Regions from separate parts of the Homo sapiens genome. Here region 1 is linked to region 2. The links are contacts of gene promoters, found by promoter capture Hi-C in blood cells and fetal thymus (Javierre and others, 2016). All regions are on one chromosome and are shown on one strand. The core of a region is centred on a gene start or on the middle of the fragment in contact, and the rest is flanking DNA. Distances in the headings are between cores, read along the strand shown. Region 1 has its middle 140 kb from the start of LINC01907. Region 2 holds the start of SLC16A14 (solute carrier family 16 member 14).

Region 1 (7,145 bases), core at 3,135-5,634, 490 kb before region 2:
AACAGAGGAGACTCCATCTCAAAAAAAAAAAAAAAATCTTTCCCTACCCACCCAGAGTTTATGAAGATATTATTTTAGGTTATCTTCTCAAAATGCTATTGTTTTATCTTTTTACATTTTTATCTAAAATCCACCAGTAATTGCTTGGTGTGGATTAGAGGGCCTGGATTTCTTTTTCTTCAAGATTTATTAGATGTAGGTATCCAAGTAACTGAGTATTGTCTTTGCCACACAGTTTTGCCATGTCACCTTTGTAGTAAATCAACCGCCCAAATAGGCATGAGTCTTTTCTTTCAACTGGCTTATTTTTCTATCTTTGAGACAATACCATTTAATTAGAGTAGCTTTATTTAAATCTTGATATCTTGTAGTGAAGTCCTTTAGTTGTGTTCACCTTTTTCAAATTGTCTGGGTTATTTCCAGTTCTTTGTGTTCCAATATTACATGTTAGAATCAACTGGTCAATTTCCACAAAAATGCTGTTGATGTTTAAAATGGAAACAACATGGGTTGTTTCTGTAGATCATTTTGAGGAGAATGGACAATATTCATCTTCCAATCCCTGAACATAATATATCCTTCCATTTACTCAGGTATTCTTTAATGTTTCTTAACAATGTTCTAGAATTTTCTGTATAGATTTTTACATATCATTTATTAGATTTGTTTTCCTATATTCTTTTCAGTAGTATGGTAAATGTATATTTCAACACTTCGTGTAGTAACTGTTTTTGGTTTGTAAAATGCATTTCATTTTTGTAACTTGACACAGATCTAGAAAACCTGCCAAACTACTTATTAATTTTAGTGATTTACTGATAGGTTCTTTTGGATTTTCAGTGTATTCAATTTCACCATCTGTGAAAAATAAGTTTCATATCTTTGTTTTCGATTCTTTAACATATATTTCTTTTCTTTGAGTTTCTGCACCAGCAAAGACCTCCAGTACGATGCTGAATAAAAGGGGTAATAGGAGCACTTGGTCTTGGTCTCAACTTGCTTGAGCACTTTGTCTTGGTCTCAAGCAATCATCAGAAAGCTTTCAACTTTCCATCATTGAGTGTGAAGTATGCTGTAGGTATATATATATATATTTTTTGGAGGGGGATGGAGTCTCGCTCTGTCACCCAGGCTGGAGTGCAGTGGTGTGGTCTCAGTTCACTGCAAGCTCCATCTCCTGAGTTCAAGTGATTCTCCTGCCTCAGCCTCCTGAGTGGCTAGGATTACAGGTGCCACCACGCCCGGCTAATTTTTCTATTTTTAGTAGAGAAGGGGTTTCACCATGTTAGGCTGGTCTCAAACTCCTGATCTCGTGATCTGCCTGCCTCTGCTTCCCAAAGTGCTGGGATTACAGGCATGAGCTACCGTGCCTGGCTATGCTGTAAGTATTTTATGGATGCCCTCTACTAAATTAGGGAAGTGTCCTTCAATTCCTAGTTTGCTAAGTTTTTCTTAATCATGAATGGATATTGATTTTTTTTTTTTCCAGACAGAGTCTCACTCTGTCACCCAGGCTGGAGTGCAGTGACACCATCATGGCTCACTGCAACCTCTGCCTCCCAGGCTCAGGTGATCCTCCCGCCTCAGCCTCCTGAGTTGCAGGAACCACAGGTGTGCACCACCAAACTCAGCTAATTTTTTCTTTGTATTTTTTGTAGAGATGGGGTTTCATCATGTTGCCCAGGCTGGTCTCAAACTCCTAGACTCAAGTGATCCACCTGCCTCTGCCTCCCAAAATGCTGGGAGTATAGGTGTGAGTCACCGTGCCCATCTTGATTTTTATTGAATGTTTTTCTGGACCTATGAACATGATCAAATTGCTTTTTTCCTGTAATCTGTTAATGCATTTTATTACATTTATTTATTTATTTTTGAGACAAGGTCTTGCTCTGTTGCTCAGGCTGGAGTGCAGTGGCATGATCTCGGCTGATTGCAACCTCCACCTCCTGGGCTCAGGTGATCCTCCTACCTCAACCTCCTGAGTAGCTGGGACTACAGGTGCATGCCACCATACCTGGCTAATTTTTGTATTTTTAGTAGAGATGGAGTTTCACCATGTTGGCCAGGCTGGTCTGGAACTTCTGACCTCAAGTGATTGGCCTGCCTTAGCCTCCCAAAGTGCTGGGATTACAGACGTAAGCCACTGCACCTGGCCCACTGATTGATTTTTGAATGTTCAACCAATCTTGCATTTCTGAAATAAACCTAGCTTGGTCATAAGAATTATACTTTTTAATATAACTGGCTTTATTTTTTATGTTGGGGAGTTTTACAACTGTATTCATGAAAGAGATTCTTGTTTGAAATCATTAGGTTCTTGTTTTGCCCCCTCAGAGTTTGGAATTATGGTTATACTGGTCTCACAAAATAATCAGTAGTTATTTCTTCTGTTTCTATTCTATGGAAGTGGTTGATAAAATTTGGTGTATTATCTTCCTTAAATGCTTGGTAAATACATCACTTAAGCCATCTGGCCTGAAAATTTTATTGAAGAGAGGTTTTAAATTATACATTCAATTTTTTAATAGTTACAGAACAATTACAGAAAAAGTAGAAAAAATTTATATTTTTTGCATTTGCCTATATTGTAAATTGTGTTTTTAATTTAAACTTTCCAATTGTTTGGCATAAAGCTGATCATAGTATCCTGAGATATTTTAATGTCTTTAGAATATGTATTGACATATTCTTTTTCCCCCTAATATTTGTTCTTGTGACCCTTGTCTTAAAAAAAGTCTAGTCTTATTAGGAGCTTGTTAATTTTATAGCTGTTTCAAAGAGATAACTTTAGACTTTAACTGCTGATCCCCTTTCTTGAATGCTTGTTTTCTATATCAGTTTCTTTCTTAACTTTTTTCATATCTCTACCTTTGGATGCTTAGATCATTGATTTTTAGCTTTTCTTTTTTTTTTTTCTCAGACCTTGCAGGGATGGATCTTCTTTTCTAAGAAATGCATTTAAGGCTATAATTTTTTCCTTCTTAAGTTTTGCTTTTGGTGAATCTCATAAGTTTTGATATGTCATATTTTTATTATCATTCAGGAATTGTTTTCTGAATTCAATTATAATTTTTTCTTTGATCTATGAGGTGTTTATTGGTTTATTTCTTAATTTCCATTTACATGGGGAATTTTCTTCTTGTTATTGATTTTTAGTTTTGTTTCTTATTGTCAGAGGATGTACTTGGCACAATTTTAGTTTTTTGAAATTTGAGATTTACTATATGTCCCAACATTTATCATTTTTATGTGTTCCATGTGTACTTAAAAAGAATGCACATTTGAAGTTGTTGGGTATGTTGTTTTATCTATGTCAATTAAGTCAAGTTTGTTAATCACATGGTTCAGATTTTCTACATCCTTACTGATTTTTTGCTTGTGCCATCAGCGACTGAGGTGAGTTACAAGCTTCTACTTTGGTAGTGGATTTGTCTATTTCTCCTTTTAATCTTGTCAATCTTTGCTTTATATATTTTGTGGCTTTTCTGTTAGGTACCAATAAATGTAGAATTATCTTTTGTGTGTGTTGAATTTCTTATCATTGTGTAACGTCCCTCTTTATCCCTAATGGTGTTTTTTGCTTAAAAGTCTACACCAGTGTAGAAAAAATTTTTTTTTCTTTACTCTCTTAGGTTTAATGCCTGGGACCTATAAATTAAACTGACAAAAGACAGATTAACAGGAGAAAAAGCACAGAAATTTTATTTAATATTAGTATTTTTACATGGCAAAGGAAACATCATAGCAAGAAATAAAAACCCCAAATAAATGAATTGACTGGAGGCTTATATACTATTTTAACACAGAGCAATAACTTGTGGAGATGTAACAATACAAAGGAAAAAAGGATTTGGGCTAAGAGTGGTAAATTATGGGAAAGTGACTAAGAAATATATGGAGAAAACTAATGGGAGATAAGGGTTATTTTAGTGAGGTTTGTTTGTACAGATTCATCATGGCTTCAACTCCTTGACTCTGGTGATAAGAATGTTCTATTCCTGGTACAGGGATGGCACTTTTCTTAGGCATAAAGGTGTAAGAAAGAGACCCCTTTCTGCATCTGCTGTTTCTCAATTGCCTTCAGCTCAAAATAATCAACATGGCAAAGTGGCATATTATGGGGTGATATGTTCTGATACCATTCACCGGCTTTATATTTTTTTGAGACGACTTAGTGTTTGCATATCTTATTCCATCTTTTTATTTTTAACTTATATATCTTCGTATATTCAATCATGTCTCTTGCAAGCAGCCTATAGGTTTTCTTTAATCCAGTATGACAATGTTTGCCTTTTTTTTGTCTGTTTTTGAGACGGAGTCTTGCTCTGTCACCCAGGCTGGAGTGCAGTGGCATGATCTCGGCTCACTGCAACCTCCACCTCCTGGGTTCAAGCAATTCTCATGCCTTGACCTCCCGAGTAGTTGGGACTACAGGCACACGCCACCATGCCTACCTAATTTTTTTGTATTTTTAGTAGAGATGGGGGTCTCACCATATTGGCCGGGCTGGTCTCGAACTCCTGACCTCATGATCCACCTGCCTCAGCCTCCCAAAGTGCTGGGATTACAGGCATGAGCCACTGTGCCTGGGCTATGTTTGGCTTTTAATTGGAGAAATTGTTTCATTTACTTTCCATGTAACTACTGATATATTTAGGTTTAAATCTACCATCTTCCTGCTTGTTTTCTATTTGTCTTACCTGTTTTATGTTCCTTTTCTTCTTCTTACTTCTTTATTGGATTACATTAAAATTACATTATTATAGTCATTTTTGGTTTATCAATGCCTAGTAAACATTAATACTCTTACCATTTTCTAGACAACATAAGGACTTTACACATTCCTATTTTAGATTTCTCCTGCCATTTTATAAATCTTATAGATATTAGAAGTAAATATACTTTGGGAAAAGCCACTTGGAAAACAGAAAAGCCAATAAAACTCTTAATATTCATATAAACATATTTTTCTTTACAAAAGAATTATTCTAATTGTTTGCTGCATATGTTACAAATAGAAAATAATTCCTTTTGATTTTGGAAGATTCATGTAATAGTAGTAGTTAGCTTGCTTTGTAGTAGTTAAATTAGGCTATCTGCTCTAACAAATAGACCCCAATATATATAACATCCTCAAACAAAATTTAAGTTTATTTCTTTTAAAACAGTCTAATGAGTTACAAGTTGGTGAGATGGGAGGGTTGTTGGGTTGTTGGGGGCTCTCTTCCATGTAATTATGCATGGTCTCAGACTGATGGAGGTTTTGACACTCATGGCTTCCAAGGGTGTCCTTACTTGGAGACTGCCATCCAGTTCATGGCAGAGGAAAGATTGTGGGGCAGTACGTGTAAGAAGCTTTTATGGGTCAGCCTTGGAACTAGGCACATGTCTTCCTCAGATGTTCCTCTATCTAGAACTCGGTCATAGGCCACTCATACCTGCAGGAATTCCTGGAAAATATAGTTTAACTGTGTGCCCTGGAAGAAGAGGAAAATACAGTTTGGGTAAGCAGCTAGCTGTCTCTCCTATACACTTTCTATCTTGTCCTCAAGTATCACCCTTCTTCCGATCTTCCCACATATAGAACCCCTTACCCTCTTTCTTCCTGCCCCTCCCTTACAGGAGATAACACAAACTCCCATATAATTACTGCACACAGGCCAATATCCACTTACTTTGTGTGAAGTACAGTTCTCCCTATCAGGTCTGGATGATGTTCTTGATGTTTTGGTGACCTTTTAATAAGTTTGTCTTCCCTTACTGTACTTCCAATATACAATGTTTGATGAGTGACAGAGTAATCCCAATACAACTACTATCTAGGAAGTGGAAAAATGGGAGACAAACAGTGGCCAATGGTCTATTATCTAAATCTACCAGGCTGTGATTAAAGGGGTCCCTCTCCTCTAGCAGTGGAGGAATTTGGAAATTTCTTGACTTTGATTCTGCTCTTTTGAAATAATTCTCCTGACCGTGCCCTCTATTTTTTTTTTTTTTTCATTTTCTCTTTCAATTTCCTTCTTGGCCACCTCTGAAGTATCCACTGGGGGACACACCCTTCTATAGCACTGTATGTATTCACAGCTTTTTTCTGCATGTTTAAGTTTGGATGACTAAGGGTTTTATTAAGGCTTGAACAGTACTTGAAAAGTACTTTATGTTCAGGTTTATGGTTCTTTCAGTGATTTTATTAAAGCTTGGTTGGCTTTTCATTGATTTATTGTCCATGAATTCCACATATTTATAACAACATCTAGAGTTCTGTTCTAAACTTAATCCATAAGCCTGATTTATTTCTTAACTTTTCCCTCCCAAACCAAATTTCTCTCTTAGTTGAATGGTACTCCCTTGAGGCTATCTGATGCCAGGTGGTTAGGTGTCAAGGCTTTGCTTACTTTGAAATTTACCTCAGTGCTCAATTCCTCTGTTTAATCGAGAAACCCTAACTAGCTTTTTGTTGCTCAAAGCCTCTTTCAGTCTCATCTCTTACTCTTCGGAGTTCTTTTGGCTTCTCCAACCCTACGAGAACCCACTTTTCTGTACTCTCTTGAGTCCCATTCACTTTTGTTCTCAAATGAATCAATTATTGCTGGAGCTGATCTCTTAACTGTAATAAGCCTTCAAACCCAGTGAGTGGTAACCAACAGACTCTATTGTTAGTGTTTTCCAATTCCTTTTCCTAGAGCTACAGGACTTAGAGGCATTAAAAAAATGTTTACCTTTTGTGATATATCTTGCAAGAAATCTGTCATGTTTTGCCATTGCCTAATAAAGGAAACCATTTTCCATGCTCTGATATAAAATTCCTGATCACTAAGCCATTTTTATTATGGCAACACCTCACTTCCAGTACTAGTTTCTTTCTATTTATTTATTTATTTATTTATTTAGAGACAGGGTTTTGCTCTGTCACCCAGGTTGGAGTACAGTGGCGCCATCCTAGCTCACTGCAGCCTCGAACTCCTGGACTCAAGCAATCCTCCTGGCTCAGCTGGAATTACAAGCATGGGCCACAGCATTCTCATCACCAGTGCCAGTTTTCATTATGACTTCTATATTCAATGTTATAGGATAATAGCTGTTAAATGGACCAAAAACTATGTAACAGCTCAAGCAAAATTGAGGCTTGTTTTACATTCTTGTAA
Region 2 (6,843 bases), core at 1,145-3,644:
AGTTCATACGAGATCCATCCTACCTCCATATGCTGAAACTCATCAAATTGGACACTAAATATGCACAGTTCATATGAGATCCATCATACCTCCATAAGTGGGCAAGTTTTCAGAGAAAAAAAAAACAGACTTAAAAATCTTACAGACTTCTTTTCCAACAAAATGGATCATCGGCAATTGAAGTGCTTGTCAGGAACCCTAATCTTGCTGTCAAAAGCCTGCTTGAAATGAGTGGATATGAGAGGCACCGCCCAAGGGAACACTAACCATCCAGTTGCCCGTGTTCTTATCAGCAAAAGTAAGATATGTAAACCACTGAAGCCTAGCACCTCATCAAAATGCCCTCACTTGGCCACAATTTCTCACAATTTTCTCAAAATTTTTTTTTCTTTTTTTTTTTTGAGACAGAGTCTCACTCTGTTGCCTAGGCTGGAATGCAGAGGCACGATCTCAGCTCAAGGTTCAAGCGATTCTCGCCTCCCAGATTCAAGCAATATCGTGCCTCAGCCTCCCAAGCAGCTGGAATTACAGGCAGGCGCCACCACACCCAGCTAATTTTTGTGTTTTTAGTAGAGACGGGGTTTCACCATGTTGGCCAAGCTGGTCTTGAACTCCTAGCCTCAAGTGATCCACCCGCCTTGGCCTTCCAAAGTGCTGGGATTACAGGCGTGAGCCACTGTGCCCAGCCTCAATAATTTTTAAATCAAGAGTTGATATAAGATTAGCTGGGCATGGTGGCACGCTCCTATAACCCCAGCTACTTGGGATGCTGAGGCAGGAGAATTGCTTGAACCTGGGAAGCAGATGTTGTAGTGAGCCAAGATTGCCACTGCACTCTAGCCTGGGTGACAGAGTGAGATTCCATCTCAAAAAAAAAAAAAAAAAAAAAGAGAGACAGAATTGATATAAGAAATAGCAATATAGGCCGGGTGCAGCGGCTCATGCCTGTAATCCCAGCACTTTGGGAGGGTGAGGCAGCCAGATCACTTGAGTCCAAAAGGTCAAGACCAGTCTGGGCAATATAATGAGACTCCGTCTCTATAAAAAGTCAAAAAAATTAGCCAGGCATGGTGGCGTGTGCCTGTAGTCCCAGCTACTCAGGAGGCTGAGGTGGGAGGATCACCTGAGCCCAGGAGGTTGAGGCTGCAATGAGCTGTGATCATGCTACTGCACTCCAGCTTGGGTGACCGAGGAAGGCAATGTGAAATACATGTGAATTTTTTTTCAAAGAAACGAAAAAGAAGGAAGAAAAGAAAAAGGAAAAGAAGAAAGAAGGAAATCTGTGGTAGGCAGAATAATGGTCTCCCAAAGATGTCCACATCCTAATCCCTGGAACATGTGAATTTGTTACCTTACATGGCAAGAGGGGAATTAAGGTTGCAGATGGAATTAAGGTTGCTAATCAGCTGACCTTAAAATAGAGAGATTATCTGGATTATCTCATTGGACTCAATGTAATCCCCAGGGTCCTTAAAAGTGGACAGGGGTGGGGGCAGAAAAGGGGAGACAAGGCAATGTGAGTATGGAAAGAAGACAAAATGACGCAGCAGTGCTGGCTTTGAAGATGGAGGAAGAGCCACCAGCCAAGGAATGTGGGCGGCCTGCAGAAGCTGGTGGCTCTCCCCTACAGCCACGAGAAGGAACACAGCCTTCAAGGTGGCCAACACCATGATCTCAGCCTAGTATGACCCATTTCAAACTTCCGACCTCCAGAACTGTAAAATAGTGAATTTGTGTGGTTTTCCTCTGCTATTACTGTGGCAGTTTATCACAACAGCAGCAGAGAATTACTGCAAAACCTTCAGGCGGGAAAAAACAGCACAGGCTTCATCGACTCACACATTCACTTCAATAATACAGAAAACTGTCCAAGGCAAAGCACTATGTTGTGTGCCCTGCTGGGAATGAGGTAGGGAGGTATTGAGATGAAAGTTGTGCCTGGTGCCCACGAAGGTAGGTAATGGACGTGCAGAAAGAGCAGGGAGAGGTGGGACCCAGGGTGGAAACAAGAATGAGGGACTGGCCGGTCACGGTGGCTCAGCTTGTGATCCCAGCACTTTGGAGGCCAAGGCCAGAGGATTCCTTGAGTCCAAGTGTTCGAGACCAGCCTGGCAATATAGTGAAACCCGTGTCTCTAAAAGAGAGAGAATAAGGGACTTTGAGTCCTCTTTGGCCAAAAATATTTCAGTGAGGGTCTGTTTCATCCCTTCTCTCCCATCTCAGAGAAATGGAGGCTACTGCTAGTCTCACTTGCATCCTGGATTAGATTTCAGGACCTTTCCGCCAGTGATAAATGTGCAGCGCCTTAGCGGAACCTCAGCCAAAGCTATAAACTTCAACCGGCCACAAGAGTGTGCATGTGAGGTGACTGCATTTTTTTTCCCTGCCAAACCAGAATTAGCCGGTATAGGAATGAACGAGCATGAAGATTTGAAATTGCTCCGATTGGAAGGAAGCCCAGGTTAGGTTTGGGCACCTCCAAACGCACCCGTTTTAAAGCCACCTGGACTGAGGCGTCGAGCTTTCAGCTCCACCAAACGCTCACCTGGCCTGGCAGCGAGCGGCGGAAGAGCCCGGGAGCCCCTCACAGAGCGCACCGAGCCGGGCGGAGAGCTGAGCCGCAGGCACCCGCGTCTCCAGGATGATAGGCGACATTGCAACAAATCTCTACACCCAGCAGCTCAGGGGGCTCCAAGCAGAGCAGCAAGTTCGAGGATCCGGGCGTGGAGCCGAGTGAGGCCGCAGCCCAGCGGGCCTCGGGCGGTGAGTATCCGAGGCCGCGCGCGCCGCGGGCCTGGGGAATGGAGCGACGCCGGGGGCATCGGAGCCTAGGTTTCAGATGGCCGCTGCACCCCCAGGGACCCCCGGGAAGGGGCAGCCCCAGCCCAAGGCAGGCTCGGGAAAGGCTGCCCGGGCGGTGGAGGGCGAGACTGTGCCGGGGCAGGTGGTAGTGCCAAGGCCGCCGCGGGGGCTTGGGAGCTGCGGGCGGGCAGGGTAACCGGCGGTTCAGGGCAGACCGCCAGGCGGAGCTTGGGGACGCGCGCCTTGCTGCTCAAGCTGGCCGGGGCCCCGCGAGCGTCATCCTGGGCACCCCCGTCCGGCTGGAGAAGCGCGTTCTGCCCGGAGCCCAGCCTCGCTGCCCGGCTGCTCTCTAGGCCCGTTTGGGACTCGAACTGGACAGTGATGAGGCGCAGAGCGGGGGACCCGGGGCTGCGCCTAGGGACTTCGCGGGGTGCGGATGCCTCTCTGCACAGGCTGTGGTGCTGCAGCCGGCCCAGCTTCCCCGGTGGGCTGCTGGCTTCCGAACGCGCCGAGGGATGCGGGGTGCCCGAAGTGGGGATGTGGTCTCGGGGTGCCAAGGGAGCGGGAGCACCGAGCGCGGGTGGGGGCGGGCGCTCGAAGGGTGGGGCGCGAGGCCGGACCCCGCGGGCACGATCCCGCACCCAGGGCGCGCAGAGGCTGGGCCCCCTTAGCGCTTCCGATTGAGGCTCCTCAAGAGAGGCTGAAATGGGGTGAGAGACCGGGGACGGCCATTTCGGGGCTAAACGCTGCCAAGGCCATGACGATGTTTTAGGAGCTGAACTCTGCTTTCCAATTAAGCCATTTTCTTTCTGAGGAAAAGTTGATTCGGGCTCATTAACAAGGATGACTGAGGGCCATTATTGGGGCTTAGAGAGATTCTCCTTTGCCTTGTCTGGCTTCTTTGTTTGCATGTGCGTGCGTGTGCGGCTGTGTGTGTGTGTGTGAGAGAGAGAGAGAGAGAGAGAGAGAGAGAGAGAGAGAAGAGAGGGGAGAGAGGCAGTGTTGGGGGTGGGAGGAGGTAAAACAGGCTTGGGATCCTGCAGGCCTGGGTTCCGATTTGGTTTCCACAGCCTGCTAGTTTAACCTTTCTAAGCTTCATTGCTCCCATTTGATGGCTCAGATTCTTCCTCTGTAAAATGCGGACATTCATGCCAATTGGACTGGAGGAGAAGCCACCAAGCACAGTCCCTGACCCAGAGCGAAGCATGTATGTGTTGAGTCCTCCTAATTCGGTGTGAATTTTTCGGTTCTGTTTTTCTCCTATGCTGTCTGCACCAGCTCAGCTCAGCTCCGCTCCCCAGCCTTCTCCGCGGCAGCCTCTTCAGCCTGCTGGCCGCAAGTGCGCCCTCTAAAGGCCCCAAATGCCCTGTACACACCAGGTGAAGAGCGCGGAAGCGCCTGCAGAGCAGAATTAAAGGTGAAGCCCGCACTCACCTGCGTGGGATGCAGAGCCGCTACCACCACGCTCTGCGTAGCTTTGGGGAAGACTGTAATTTCAATTTTAGCTTCGTGCTTCCCGCTTTCCTTATGTGTAATGAGCTCACCACATGCAATGTAATAACAATAGCCAAATTAAAAATGAATGACTTGGCCCAGCGCGGTGGCTCATGCCTGTAATCCCAGCATTTTGGGAGGCCGAGGCGGGTGGATCATCTGAGGTCAGAGTTTCGAGACCAGCCTGGCTAACATGGCGAAACCCCTTCTCTACTAAAGATACTAAAGATGCAGTGGCACACACCTGTAGTCCCAGCTACTCGGGAGGCTGAGGCAGGAGAATCGCTTGAACTCGGGAGGCGGAAGTTGCAGTGAGCCGAGATCTCACCAGTGCACTCCAGCCTGGGCGACAAAGCCATACTCTGTCAAAAAAAAAAAAAAAATGACTTGCTTGTAAAACTTTCTACGCTGCTGTAGAAAATTTAATTTTGTTCTAATATCTGAAACACCCTAGAAGGATCTGTTATTTTCATTTCTGCCTATTATCACGTAAATATGTAGCTGACCCAGTTTCATAGCCTATATATGTTACCCCCCATTTACAATTTCTTTTTCATCGTCTATGAACTCATTTGGGGAGAATGGAAGGCTGACTATTGCTCCCGTAATCTTCCCATTTTCTTATTTCACCCTCTTCATAACGAAGCCCTAATATTTTTTGTCAAGCTTCCAATAGCAAGCTTGCTTAGAGTGGGTTACCTTTTACTTTTTTTTTTTCTTGAGGTAGTCTCGTTCTATCATCCAGGCTAGAGTGCAGTGGCACCATCTCAGCTCACTGCAACCTCCATCTCCCAGGTTCAAGCAATTCTGCTGCCTCAGCCTCCTGCATAGCTGTGAGTATAGGTGCGCACCACCACACTGGCTAATTTTTGTATTTTTAGCAGAGAAGGGATTTCACCATGTTGGCCAGGCTGGTCTCAGACTCCCGACCTCAAGTGATCCATCCCCCTCAGCCTCCCAAAGTGCTGGGATTACAGGCATGAGCCACCGTGTTCTGCCACATTTTACATATTAATCCTTAGCAGAAGCCCCACATTCACTGCCTCAGGGTGCCACATGCATATCGTCATTTTACATGTATGTCAGGATGTAGAAAATGTAAGGGAGCTTGAAGGCCCTATGGTGGTCAAAGACATGGAGCCTAGGGGTACAGATACACCCTCTAAGTTCTCCCTCTCCAGGTGTGGAGTAGGATTATAATACTAAAATTATTCTTATATCTTATATAAATACATATATAATTATACATGTATATAATTATATGAATGCTACAAGCAATCTTGGAGTTGGAGGGATAAACATTTGTTTTTCTGTTGTCTTTTGTTTTCATTAACTAGTTGGTCTAGAAGTTAACCATGAGTAGTCAAAACAGTAATTACTTTTGGAGAGATTTAAGTGTGAAATACAACTGACTCCATTGCTCAGCAGATCTATAGGGGCCTCCTGAGGATCCAAAAGAACTTTTTGGGCCAGGCATGCTGGCTCACGCCTGTAATCCCAGCACTTTGAGAGGCCAAGGCAGGTGGATCACTTGAGGTTAGGAGTTCCAGACCCGCCTGACCAACATGGTGAAACTCCATCTCTACAAAAATACAAAAATTATCTGGCATGGTGGTGCACACCTGAAGTCCCAGCTACTCAGGAGGCTGAGACAGGAGAATCGCTTAAACCTGGAAGGTAGAGGTTGCAATGAGCCGAGATCATGCCACTGCACTCCAGCCTGGACAACAGAGTAAGACTCCATCTCAAAAAAAAAAAGAACTTTTTTACTATATTCTACATGCACCCTTGTGCCTCATGAATAAAATTTGTCCATTAAATGCTATTCAGTGTCACTTATTTATGAACAAACTGGAAATATCAAGAGCAGTTTGTTGGCACCTACATCTCTTCACCCATAAATAATTCAGTAAGAATATAAAGTTCTTATCATTGATTTAGAAAAGTGCTTAATATTTCAACACACGGGCTGAAAAACTATAACTTTTTCCTGTTGTTGTTTGTTTGTTTTGAGATGGAGTTTCACTCTTGTTGCCCAGGCTGGAGTGCAATGGTGCGATCTCGGCTCACTGCAACCTCTGCTTCCCAGGTGCAAGAGATTCTCCTGCTTCAGCCTCCCGAGTAGCTGGGATTACAGGCATGCGCCACCACACCCGGCTAATTTTGTAGTTTTAGTAGAGACAGGGTTTCTCCATGTTGGTCAGGCTGGTCTCACACTCCCGACCTCAGGTGATCCGCCTACCTCGGCCTCCCAAAGTGCTGGGATTACAGGCATAAGCCACCACGCCCGGCCTAAAAAACTCTAACTTTTAAATTTGTATTACTTCAAAGCCTTCCTTGGTTGTAAATGAACTTCAGGAAAATGCCATGTATTGTTGTTTCATCACATTAAACATAGCTGAGCATTTTCCCATGGACAGCAAAATGACATTTTTATGAGCTATTCACACCTTGTGTCAAGCTGCCTGGTTCTCCTGTTTCTGGCTCCTCAGGATTCTGCACACAACAGAGGCAGAGGGAAGACACTCACCAACCATCCCTTCTGAA

Evidence for each region. Contacts are between HindIII fragments. The CHiCAGO score rates a contact against its expected background, and 5 or more counts as called.
Region 1: a contact is called between a fragment that was not itself captured here and the fragment with the promoter of SLC16A14 in region 2, in 2 of 17 cell types (endothelial precursors and erythroblasts). The highest score is 5.8, in endothelial precursors.

What each region holds. Positions count from the first base shown.
Region 1 is chr2:230,556,189-230,563,333 of GRCh38, reverse strand. No RefSeq gene overlaps it. Among named protein-coding and RNA genes, the nearest start is that of LINC01907, 140 kb to the left of the region's middle. The HindIII fragment of the contact is 1,947 bases long and covers 3,411-5,357 here.
Region 2 is chr2:230,064,475-230,071,317 of GRCh38, reverse strand. It overlaps SLC16A14 (solute carrier family 16 member 14), which reads left to right and starts at 2,394. Exons shown (of 5, transcript NM_152527.5): 1 at 2,394-2,763. It overlaps LOC107985995 (a long non-coding RNA gene), which reads right to left and starts at 4,579. Exons shown (of 6, transcript XR_001739918.2): 1 at 4,541-4,579. RefSeq lists enhancers at 2,331-2,390, 2,401-2,520, 2,916-3,686 and silencers at 2,751-3,020, 3,291-3,540. The HindIII fragment of the contact is 4,045 bases long and covers 1-3,897 here.